Regions from separate parts of the Homo sapiens genome. Here region 2 is linked to region 1. Evidence: promoter capture Hi-C in 16 types of primary human blood cells and fetal thymus (Javierre and others, 2016). All regions are on one chromosome and are shown on one strand. The core of a region is centred on a gene start or on the middle of the fragment in contact, and the rest is flanking DNA. Distances in the headings are between cores, read along the strand shown.

The links. The method cuts DNA at HindIII sites, captures the fragments that hold promoters and counts their contacts. A CHiCAGO score of 5 or more calls a contact.
Region 2: a contact is called between the fragment with the promoter of CREB3L2 here and the fragment with the promoter of MTPN in region 1, in 1 of 17 cell types (neutrophils). The highest score is 5.0, in neutrophils.

The regions. Positions count from the first base shown.
Region 1 is chr7:135,974,511-135,979,754 of GRCh38, forward strand. It overlaps MTPN (myotrophin), which reads right to left and starts at 2,849. Exons shown (of 4, transcript NM_145808.4): 1 at 2,519-2,849. The coding sequence starts at 2,590. The HindIII fragment of the contact is 14,647 bases long and covers 1-5,244 here.
Region 2 is chr7:138,000,074-138,005,317 of GRCh38, forward strand. CREB3L2 (cAMP responsive element binding protein 3 like 2) reads right to left here and starts at 2,013. Exons shown (of 12, transcript NM_194071.4): 1 at 1,531-2,013. The coding sequence starts at 1,632. It overlaps LOC124901752 (a long non-coding RNA gene), which reads left to right and starts at 2,234. Exons shown (of 3, transcript XR_007060551.1): 1 at 2,234-2,317; 2 at 4,483-4,758. RefSeq lists enhancers at 1,038-1,636, 1,553-1,692, 1,637-2,234, 1,783-1,872, 1,963-2,032 and 2 more. The HindIII fragment of the contact is 8,216 bases long and covers 1-5,244 here.

The DNA.
Region 1 (5,244 bases), core at 1,599-4,098:
GAAAAACAAAAACAAAAAAACCCTGTTTCCAAAAAAAAGAGGAGGAGGAGGGGAATACTAAAATGCTTATCTTACTCTTACAGGTAGATTCTTAGGTTAACAATATGAGAGATCTTCACAGGAATGTTGAGGAGAGTTTTTAAAATAGACTCTCACCCCTGAGAATGAAGACTAGACAGGTCTAAGTGTTTCTTTAGTATTTTCTTTGTACACACCTACTCAGATAGATGCACATTACAGAAACTCAAAAAGTGAGTGTTCACAAATTGGTAGATGAAAAATGTGAGTCAATAAATAAGCAGGGAAGACAGCTGTGGGGCAGAAGAAACTGTAATAAGGACCTGAAAGTATAAATGGGCACCGTAAGGGAGCTGAGTCAGTATAAACTTCAGTTCTTGTTATTATTTCTCATTAACAAAGTGAAAGATACTTTATGAAATCTTCAAAACTAAGAAAGGATAAAGCTCAATGCTCTGTACATCAGATTACATTACAGTTACAGTCATATCTTTTTGGATAGTCCAACTTTCAATACTCCCTTTTGCTTTTTCTGAATGTCTACCCTCCCTCTTATGCAAATTTTTTACATTAATGAAGAACAGGCTACGGTAGTAATATAGGGAAAATAATCAAATTGAACATGATAACCTAACCTAATTATAAAACTAATTGGAAATAAATTAATCCATCTTTATTGGCATATATTTTCATATAAATATTTTTGTGTAGTTGAGAATTCTTTGGGCACAATTTACCTGCCTGAATGTGGACCCTGGGAATGTCCTACTAGAAATCTTGGTATGATACGCTTTCACAATTAGATCTTAGACTGAGAGATAGTGCGTGGAGCAGTTAAAGAGTTTCAGTTTTGGAGTCAGCAATTTAGTTCTTGCTTCACAATTTACCATCTCCATAACTTTTCTTAAGTATCCTGCATCTCAGTAATCTGTAAAATGGGACCAATAATAGGACTTACTTCCCAGTATTCACAAGGATGACATAAAATAATGTGTCAGGAAAACACTAAATACATTGTGTTATTTTGGTAGCTGTAAGTTCAGTTAGTACTTAATCAACTTTTTGTATTTCAAGTATATCAAACAACCTAGGTTCCACCATGACAGGAAAACAAAAGCCCACTTACTTCCAGAGTATTGCAGTGTCCCACCACTGGTAAGTGTACCAAATAATTTCTACCTTTTAGCTTTATATTGAAATAGCCAATAAGTCAAGTTTCAGTTGGCTACCAGCTGAGAAGGCAGTGACGAGAAGACAGCCTGTCCTAAAACTCCACTGCAAAAAACTAAGCAGGTAAGCAGCATCCAAAAAGTCTAAATTGTAATGGCATTAAATAAAGTAAAAACCTTCAGCAGTTTGCCTTGCACAATCCTGTAAGTTTTAAGAAACTGCTTCGCTTACTTGCTTCCTAACACAGCCTCTGAAGCAAAAACCCAGGTCAGGTCCTATTCTTTGAAGAGTTAAAATCTAGACTGGGTTCTCACACTTTTAGAAGGTGAGCAAGATGCCATCCGTGGTTGTCATAAAATTATACTTGTTTTGGAAGATTCATTTTAGATTATCACTAAATTAAAATCACATGTTAAGTTCTCTCATAATTACAAAGGCACAGTTTCAGGATGGAAAGACAGGCTAGCTTGGAATTTTAAGTTTCCCACTCTGCCACAATGTCGATTCAGTTTTATATTTGGGGCTGAGGTTTGAGTTTGTCTTTCTTCATCATGATTTTACCCCCCAAATACACTGCCACTAAACTGCATTGCTATTTACTACACATGTAAGCATTTCAGGTGAAATCAGGGAGAAGAATGGAATAACTGAAGTTAACATGCTTGTTTAAAAACTATTCAGATACCTTAAACATTCCCAGATGCCAGTTGACAACCTTACCACTTGAAGCAAATATGTATTTGTTGTGGTGGGGGAAAGGAAAAAGGCCACACCCAAAGTTAAGACACCACAGTGAAGTGATACTCAGTTTCAGAATTTTAACTATTTCTATTTTCGGTACTCTTTTCACGGTCAATGAATTCTTCAACTTCACACCAGGCCGAGAGTTAAAAAACATGTTCCTCTGATCCTAATTACTTAGGTTACTTCATTTAGTAATGGGTAAGTCCAAGATGGAGAATTACCTCATTCAAAGAAAGGTTTAAGTAACTTTGGTGTAGAAGAGGGCCAAACTCAAATGATCAGTGCGCAGAAGAAACTCTGGATGAGCCAGACACCACTCCTCCCCTCCCCCAAGAGGCCAGGAAGTCAGGTAGCGCCTAACTGTATTAACGCAGCAGTTACCTGACACAGAACGCTACCAAGTTACCTGGACCCTTCTTTCAGTTTAGCTCCTCCCTAGACGCCCCTCTCTCCTTGGTGCCGCCTCCACCCAGGAAGTCTCTCCTCCCGCCCACCCCCATCCCCGCAGTCCAGCTCCCATCAGCTTCCTCAGCCTCATCTCCAGCCCACCTCCGTGTTCTCGCCTACTCTTCTCATCCCCGCTTACCTTGGCCACATAGTCTTTCACCTCATCCAAGTCTCCGTTTTTCAGGGCCCACATGAACTCCTTGTCGCACATCACTGCAGCGGGGCAGGCCGGTTGGCCGGGCAGAAGATGAGGAGGCGGTGGCAGCAGCAAGCGGATGCCGCCGGGCGAGAGGGAGGCAGGGCCGCGCGAAGCCGGAGAGGAGAAGAAGAGAAGGAGGGTTAGGCTGCCAGGCGGGCGAGGCAGTTGGCCGCGGCGACCGTTCGGGCGGGAGAAAGAAAGTTCTTTTGCGGCCACCGGGCCCAGCAGAGAGGTTCCGCCTGGCCGAGGAGAGGCAGGAACCTTTACACTTCCGGTTCACTCCCCGCTAGGACCCTCCCCCAACTTCCTCTTCCTCTTCTCCTCCGCGGAACGCCTCTCTCTGGGTCCGCGGCGCGAACGCCACTAGTGCGCATGCGCAATGTACAGGCTGCCGGGAAGGCTAGAGTGGAGGGTAGGAGCCGGCGACAAGTGGGCGGGACTGGGAGGCAGAATGAAGGAGGCCCGGGGGAGGTCAAGACAGCGAATGGAGGAAGAGTGAGAGTACTTTCGATGGGATTAGGACGCTTCTGCACCACCATTAATGGGAAAAACTTTACTTTTTAAAAAACATAATCTTGGAGGGCATCTTGCTCAGCTTCTAAAAATGTATAGGAAGAGTGTTTAATTTGAATTCCTTCTTCCTTGCCTTTTCCCCTTCCCTCCCTCCTTTTCACCCCTCCCTCTCTCCGTCATCCAGTCTGACTGGGCTAAAAACGATGGAATAACGCTATTCCTGCCCTCCAGGAAATCTTCAACACTAAAACTACAATGTAAATTGAGTGTGTTAACACTATGTATAATGTTCCCTGGAGCAAAAAACTTAAGTGTGTGGCAGGAAAAAAAAAATTAACTCATCTTCCTGACCAGCAAATGACGTCCAGGCATTCAGTTTGATGCCGTAAAGTGGAGCAAACCAAACTGTCTAGTACAATTTGCGTTTTTTAAATTTACTGTTTGTTTTTAATGGTTTGAAACTTCAGGACTGTTCTGGTGAAGTCAGTTCTGTTCTTCCTAGGGTTTAGTTGTAATGCCATAGTGCATAGCTACCACTTGAATTGTTCCTCACAACCCTAATGATCCAGGCATGCGCACATGAACATAGATCCAATAAAAGCTCTTATTGGAGCTAGAAATATACGTATAATATATATACATATATAACTATTACTATATATAAAACTCATATATATAATCTATTATTTGTAACCCACTAAACACATTAACTAAGCTACTTTACCACCATTGCCGTACAGTGTAGGGGTTCCAAACAGACTCTGGAGCCAAATTGTTTAGTTTGCGATACAGGTCCCACTTCTTGCTAATTTTGTGTCTTCTTGGGCAAGTTACTGAACCCCCTTCTGCTTCAGTTTTCCACTTGTGTAAAATGGGGATGTCAATAGTGTTTGGAAATGTATTTTTTTTTTTTTTGCTATCATTTAGAGTAGAATAGCAAATGGGTTTCAAATCAGAAGAAATCCCTCCAAATATTAACATCTACCTAGATTGTCATTTGTTAATTTTACTCCCTGATAATTAGAAATACAAATCCACATACCCAATAGTGATACGATTTCTGGAAACAAATCTCAAGGGGGAATTTGTTAGGCAAGTCCTAGAATCTCCATCTCTTCTCCAACACACTCCCACCTGTGTGATTTCTGAGTTACATCATGCTGAGAGCTCTTGATTTATATCTTTGGCCGGGTGCAGTGGCTCATGCCTGTAATCCTAGCACCTTGGGAGGACAAGGCTGGAAGATCGCTTGAAGCCAGGAGTTGGAGACCAGCCAGGGCAACAAAATGAGACACCATCTCTACAAAACACAAAGATTAAAAAAATTAGTTGGGTACAGTGGCGGACTTCTGCCTTCCCAGCTACTTGGGAAGCTGAGGCAGGAGGATTACTTGAGCCCTGGAGTTTGAGGCCACAGTAAGCTATGATGGCACCACTGCATTCCAGCCTGGGTGACAGAGCAAGATCATCTAAAAAAAAAATCTTTAACTAGACTTTTCCTATGTGATCTATTCTTATATTTAACTTCTTACTCATTTGGATTTCTCAAACTTAACATGTCCAGAATAGGATCTGGTCTCCTGTAGATGTTAAACCTAGTTGTCCCCCACATATCTCTGTAAATGGCGCTGCCAACCACCCTATCACTAAAACCAGAAACATGGGAGTCATAATCACTCTTCCCATTCTCAACTTTTCTCTTATTCAATCCATCAGTAAATATTTCAAAATATGTCTTAAATTTGTTCATTTCTTGCCATCTTCACTATTACTACTCCCTGCACCCTCACATATCCCCCATCCCTGTCACTGTCATCTCTGTCTACACTGCTATGATGCTATGTGCTATGATAGCCTCCCTGTTGGTGTCCTATTTTCACTCATCCTTTTCTAGATAATTCCCCACTTTGGGAGTTACTCTTTTAAAACTTAAACATGCACTTGTTGTCCTAAGGCCTTTCAAAGGCTTCCTATTGCAGGTAGGTTAAAATCCTAACTACTTGATATGGCCTTCAGGGCCTTCTGTGCACTGACTGCTGATGGTAGGTGATAGTATCTCCTATCTCATGACAGTCCCTTGCCACCCCCATTGTTTCTTTGATTTTGAAATATCTTGTCTTCTGTCAGTTTCAAGCTAAACCAAGCTCATTCCA
Region 2 (5,244 bases), core at 763-3,262, 2.0 Mb after region 1:
CAAGGTAGATGCCTGTGCGTAATTCATCCCACCAGCTGAAAGACAACCCCCTAGCTGTGGCATTGCAGCTGCTGGATGAGACACTGTCACAGCGAAAGAATACTTCAAGAACAAAAGAGAAGGGCTGCCCCTCTGCATATGGATAAAATGTAGCCTGTCAGTAGAAACTCCTGGAGCACCCATTCATCAAAAGATATTTGAGGAACAACATACTCCAAGTTCTTTACTGAGGACAGGAAGCACATCTGGTACCCCAACCTCCGTGCTGCCCACATAGTGTCCCCATGACAAGCTCAGCAAGCAAAGCCCAGAAGATCACACTGAACATCTGGCTTTTGCCCCAGCATGAACTACCACTCCCTCTCAGCCCTGCACTCTGCATTTTTTTTAAACAAGCCACTCTCAGCCACCACAAATACTTCGGTGGGAATCAGCAGGGAGGCCCTCATTCCTTGTCTCAAAATAACGTCAGCCAGAGTCAAAGGCCAAAGAGGTGGAGCCTGCAGGCCATTTTGCGAAAGTTTCAAATATCTTGGTACTGACCCCATTAAAAAAGCGTGAAGGGGAAGCAGCCAAGCCTCCAGTGGTTTTCTCATTAGTGTCCCCCCTCACCCCAGCCCCACCCCCATTACAAACGTCTGCATGGATAAGAATCAAACAAAGAGATCTTGCATAAAGTCCTATGATCAGTGCTGGCTATTGAAAACAAAATTTCATTTTGCAAACTTAATACCAAAAACTTGACATTAAAAACTTTAAAAGAAATGTGCGTGCTCTGGGACAGCTTAATCCCCCAAGAGATCTCTGAGGCATTAGTATAAGACTGAACAAGCAACTGGTGAGCTGTCCCACCTTCCCCAGAGCCTTTCTTAAATATGCAACTGTCTCAGATTTTCCATACTCCTCTGCTGGTTTTTCCTCCGAAGAGGGAGGAAGGAGACTTCTTGGTCGTACAGTTTAAGAAAGCAAATAAAGCCGCCTTTCTCCCTAACGTAGAGGAGCCCTTTCAACACACACACACACACACACACACACACACACACACACACACACGTGTACTTTTTAAAATATAAATATGAAAGAAGAGGAAGGGAGGGAGAGAGGGAGAGAGAATACGAGACAGATGAAAAGGAAATGCTACTTAATCTTGTCCAGTTTTTGAAAACCTCAAAAAAAAATCAATAGCAAACTAGGCGGAGGCATGTTATTCTCAAAACACACACTCCCTCTCCCGCATTACAGTACTGTTAACAACAGCAAATGATATTACAGATGGAAAAAGCCTCAGGGAAAAAAGCATGAATTGTTAAAGGAATACAAAGTGGCATTACTCTCATGAGAAATGTAAAGGGGCCAGCTGCCCGCCTTCATCTGCTCAGACATTAAAGTACACCTCGCCCAGGACCTCTTGATTCTGACCATGCCCTGCCCCAAACCCTGCCTTCCCGGGTCCCAGGACTCCAGCTGCTCCTCGCGTGACAACACTTGCCCGCTTTGAAAGCCCTCCTGCCCCGCCCGCCGGGTCCTCACCGTGTGGTACATGAGGGCCTCGCCGTCCCCGGGCTCTGACAGCTCGCTCAGCTTGCGGTCCCACTGCAGCACGCCCTGCTCCCCGCTCTCCAGCACCTCCATGGCGGTGCGGGCCGCGCTGGGCCGAGGATGCTAAGCGCAGGAGGGGACGCGCAGAGCTGCCTCGGACCGGCAAGGTTCCTCTCTCTCCGCGTGTGCTTGCGTGTGTGCGCGCGCGTGTCTGTAGTTTTGCACTTGGAAAGCAAACGTCTGCTCCTCTGCCGGAGAGAGGATGGCCAAGCGCTCCCGTCCGGTGTCCTCGGAGATCCGAGAATCCCCAGGGACACGAGCCGGACCAAAGGCTGCCGGGGCTAAAGCGGGATGTGCATCCAAAATGAAGGCAGAAGACCCGCTCTCATCCCAGGAAAATCCCTTAGCCGCAAGCCCACTTGCCGCTACGGCTCCAGACACAAACTTTGAGGGACCCCAGGGCTCCTCGGCTCTGCTCCAGGACCCAGCTGCGGCCCCACCTCCCTCCAAGGCTTGACCAATTGGATATCCGCCTTGCCTAGCAGACCCAATCAGAAGTCTCATTCTCGGCTTTGTCCCGCCCCCAAAGGCAGAGGCCGCGGGAAGTCTCCGCCCACGCCTTGGAATGTAGCCGGGGAGTGTCTGTGACGTCACCGAGGAACTCCTCCTGCTTGAGCGCGGCCCGCTGTCTGCTGTCGCCTACAGCTGACCAATAGAGGGCTTGGGTCCGGAAGTGATGGACTGGAGGCTTGACTAATGTGAAAGGGGCGTCTGAAAGGTACAGCCAATGAAATAGCGACAAGAATACATTTTGTAAAAGAGGGAGGGTGAGTTCAGTCCTCTTGCTGAGAATCCTCAGAAATTTACCAGCGCGCCGACAGGGGGCGCGAGAGTTGTTGCGCGGGGGGCTTAAACATTTTCGAGTACTTTAGTTCATTTGAATCTCTCGGAATTTTTTTAATGGATTACATATTATACAAAAATACAAATATTCCTCATGCACATACATTTATATTAGTGCAGCTCTAGGAAATTGTCATTGTTCTTCACCTTTTTCGCCCATTTTCTGTTGGGTTCTTCTATTTTTTATGGACTTCACTTATTGTATGTTTTTCTTTCATCTGCTTGATAAGAGTCAATGGCATGCTTTTCCAGGTCCTACAGAAGTGAGCCCAGTCCTTGAATTCATAGAGCTTTTATCTCAGAGGAGTCAGGCAATAAACAAAGAAATAAACATTTAAATTCAGAAAGTGGAAATTGCTATAAAGAAAAATAAAAGCAGGAAAACAGGATGCGTCAAGATCGATGCTATTTTACGTGCTGATCAGGGAAGTTCTTCCTAAAGGAAATGAGATTTCGGGGGAAGCTGGTATTCACGTGATTGCTGGGGAGGCCAGTGTGGCTGCAGCAGAGGTGCTTGGCAGGGAGGGGTGGGAAAGGCCAGAAAGGTGAGCCAGGGCCAGAGCACCAGGCCTGCCTCCTAGAATAGGGAAGAGATGGCCTGTTCTAAAGGAATTCCCCCGAACACTGTGATTCTTCTTCCTCCTTTTTAATTCCAAAAATATAGTTTACCTATCTTAAATATAAAAGCAGGTCTTTGCCAGTTAGCTCTAGAAGTTTCTTACAATGGCACATTCAGGTATTAGCTATTGTGTTGTTTCCTTGGCAAGTATTTTTTGGCGGGTGGAGACAAATGTCTTTGAACTCTATGTTGTCTTTAAAGCAGCAGTTTATCATATAAACTATTGCATTTGTCTGGTCCTATCTTCTGGGGTCTTTTGAGATTTTTTTTTTTTTTTTTTTTTTTTTGAGACAGTCTCACTCAGTTACCCAGGCTAGAGTGCAGTGGCACGATCTCAGTTCACTGCAGCCTCCACCTCCTGGGCTCAAACAGTTCTCCTGCCTCAGCCTCCTGTGTAGCTTGGACCACAGATGTGCACCACCACACCCGGCTAATTTTTAAATTTTTTGTAGAGGCAAGATCTCACTTTGTTGCCTGGGCTGGCCTCAAACTCCTGGGCTCAAGCAATCCTCTCTCCTGAGTCTCTCAAAGTGCTGAGATTTAAGGCATGAGCCACCACGCCCAGCTTTTGAGATTATTTTAATGCTTAAATAGAAGCTCTAGTTTATGGGCACACACCTTCCTTATATAATAGTTTTCTCATTTTTCTCTTAGGTTCTTGGTTTTTCTTTTCCAGCCTGGTATCCCCTTCATCACATTCTTTCCATAGATTGCTCTTTCCATTTTTAAAGACCTTTCTTATTTTTTTAATCTGTCACTCAATGTACAATGGGATTACATCCACATAAACCCATCATAAATTGAAAATATCGTAAGTCAAAAATGCATCTACTATACCTAACCTATCAAACATTATAGCTTAGCCTAGCCTACCCTAAGATGTGCTCAGAACACTTATATTAGCCTACAGTTGGACCAAATCATCTGGCAACACAGTACTAGTTATTTACTGTCATGATTGTGTGGCTGACTGGGAGCTATGGCTCCCTTGCACCAGGAGAGAATACCATATTGCGTATTGCTAGCCCGGGAAAAGATCAAAATTCAAAACTCAAAGTACAGCTTCTACTGAATGCATATCTCTTTCACACCATCATAAAGTCAGGAAATCATAAGTCATAAGTCAGGAACCATCTGTACCTCTTCCTTAATGTAGGAATACAAACATTTATCCGTGAAGCATTTCTGCTTTTGACAAAGTCTAATCCTGCTTATACCCCATGTAGTAGCCAGTTTCCAAGATGGCATCTAGTGATCCCACTTCCTGGTGCTCACGCTCTTGTGTAATTCCCTCCTCTTGAGTCTGGGCTAGACCTGAGGACTTTCTTCTAACAGAATATGCCAAAAACGAGAAGATGTCAAAAAGATTATGGCTCCTGACTTGCTTGTTTCCTCTTCCTCTCTTGCTTGCCTGCTTTAAGAGAAGCCAGCTGCCATGCCATGAACTGCAATGTGAAAAGGCCAATGTAGCAAGGATATGTCCAGCCAACAGCCAGTGAGGATCTGAGGCCCTCAGACCAGCAGCCCATGAGCAACTGAATTTTGCTAATAACCATGTAAGTGAACACAGAAGTGGATCCTTCCCCAGGCGAGCCTTCATAAGTCCACAGACCCAGTCAAGACTTTGACTGCAGCCTTGTGAGAGCCCCTAAGCCAGAGGACCCAGCTAAGCCACGTTCAACTTCCTGACCTGTCAGGTAATAAATGTATGTTGTTTTAAGCCACTAGGTTTTTCCTTTGTAAAATATGTATTATGATCATTGGCACCCTAAATGGTTTGGTTAAACTTACCTGTACTCTAATAATAGCATCACAATCCCTCGTGGTGGGTTTCTCCAGCCTCCTTTGTTTCACGTATACTTCTCTGTTAAATGTACACACAACTTCTTACCAGCCTGTCTTCCTGTTTTGCATTTTGAAAATGAAATTCTTTCCCTTTTCATCTCCTTAGAACTTAGCAATGTAGTTGACTCTCCTTCCAGCTTCGCTGGCATCCTTGTTCTGCTGTCTGTTATTAATAGATTCATGGCACTTGCACGACTGGAAGTCATACTCTCCCAAAATGAAAATCAGATGCATTAGCCAACAAGACATTTCTCTGATTTTTTTCTGATATTATTTGCTATCTTTCCATGTGTCAGTCTATTTACAAATTTGTTCTATGTGCTTTCTATACCTTCATC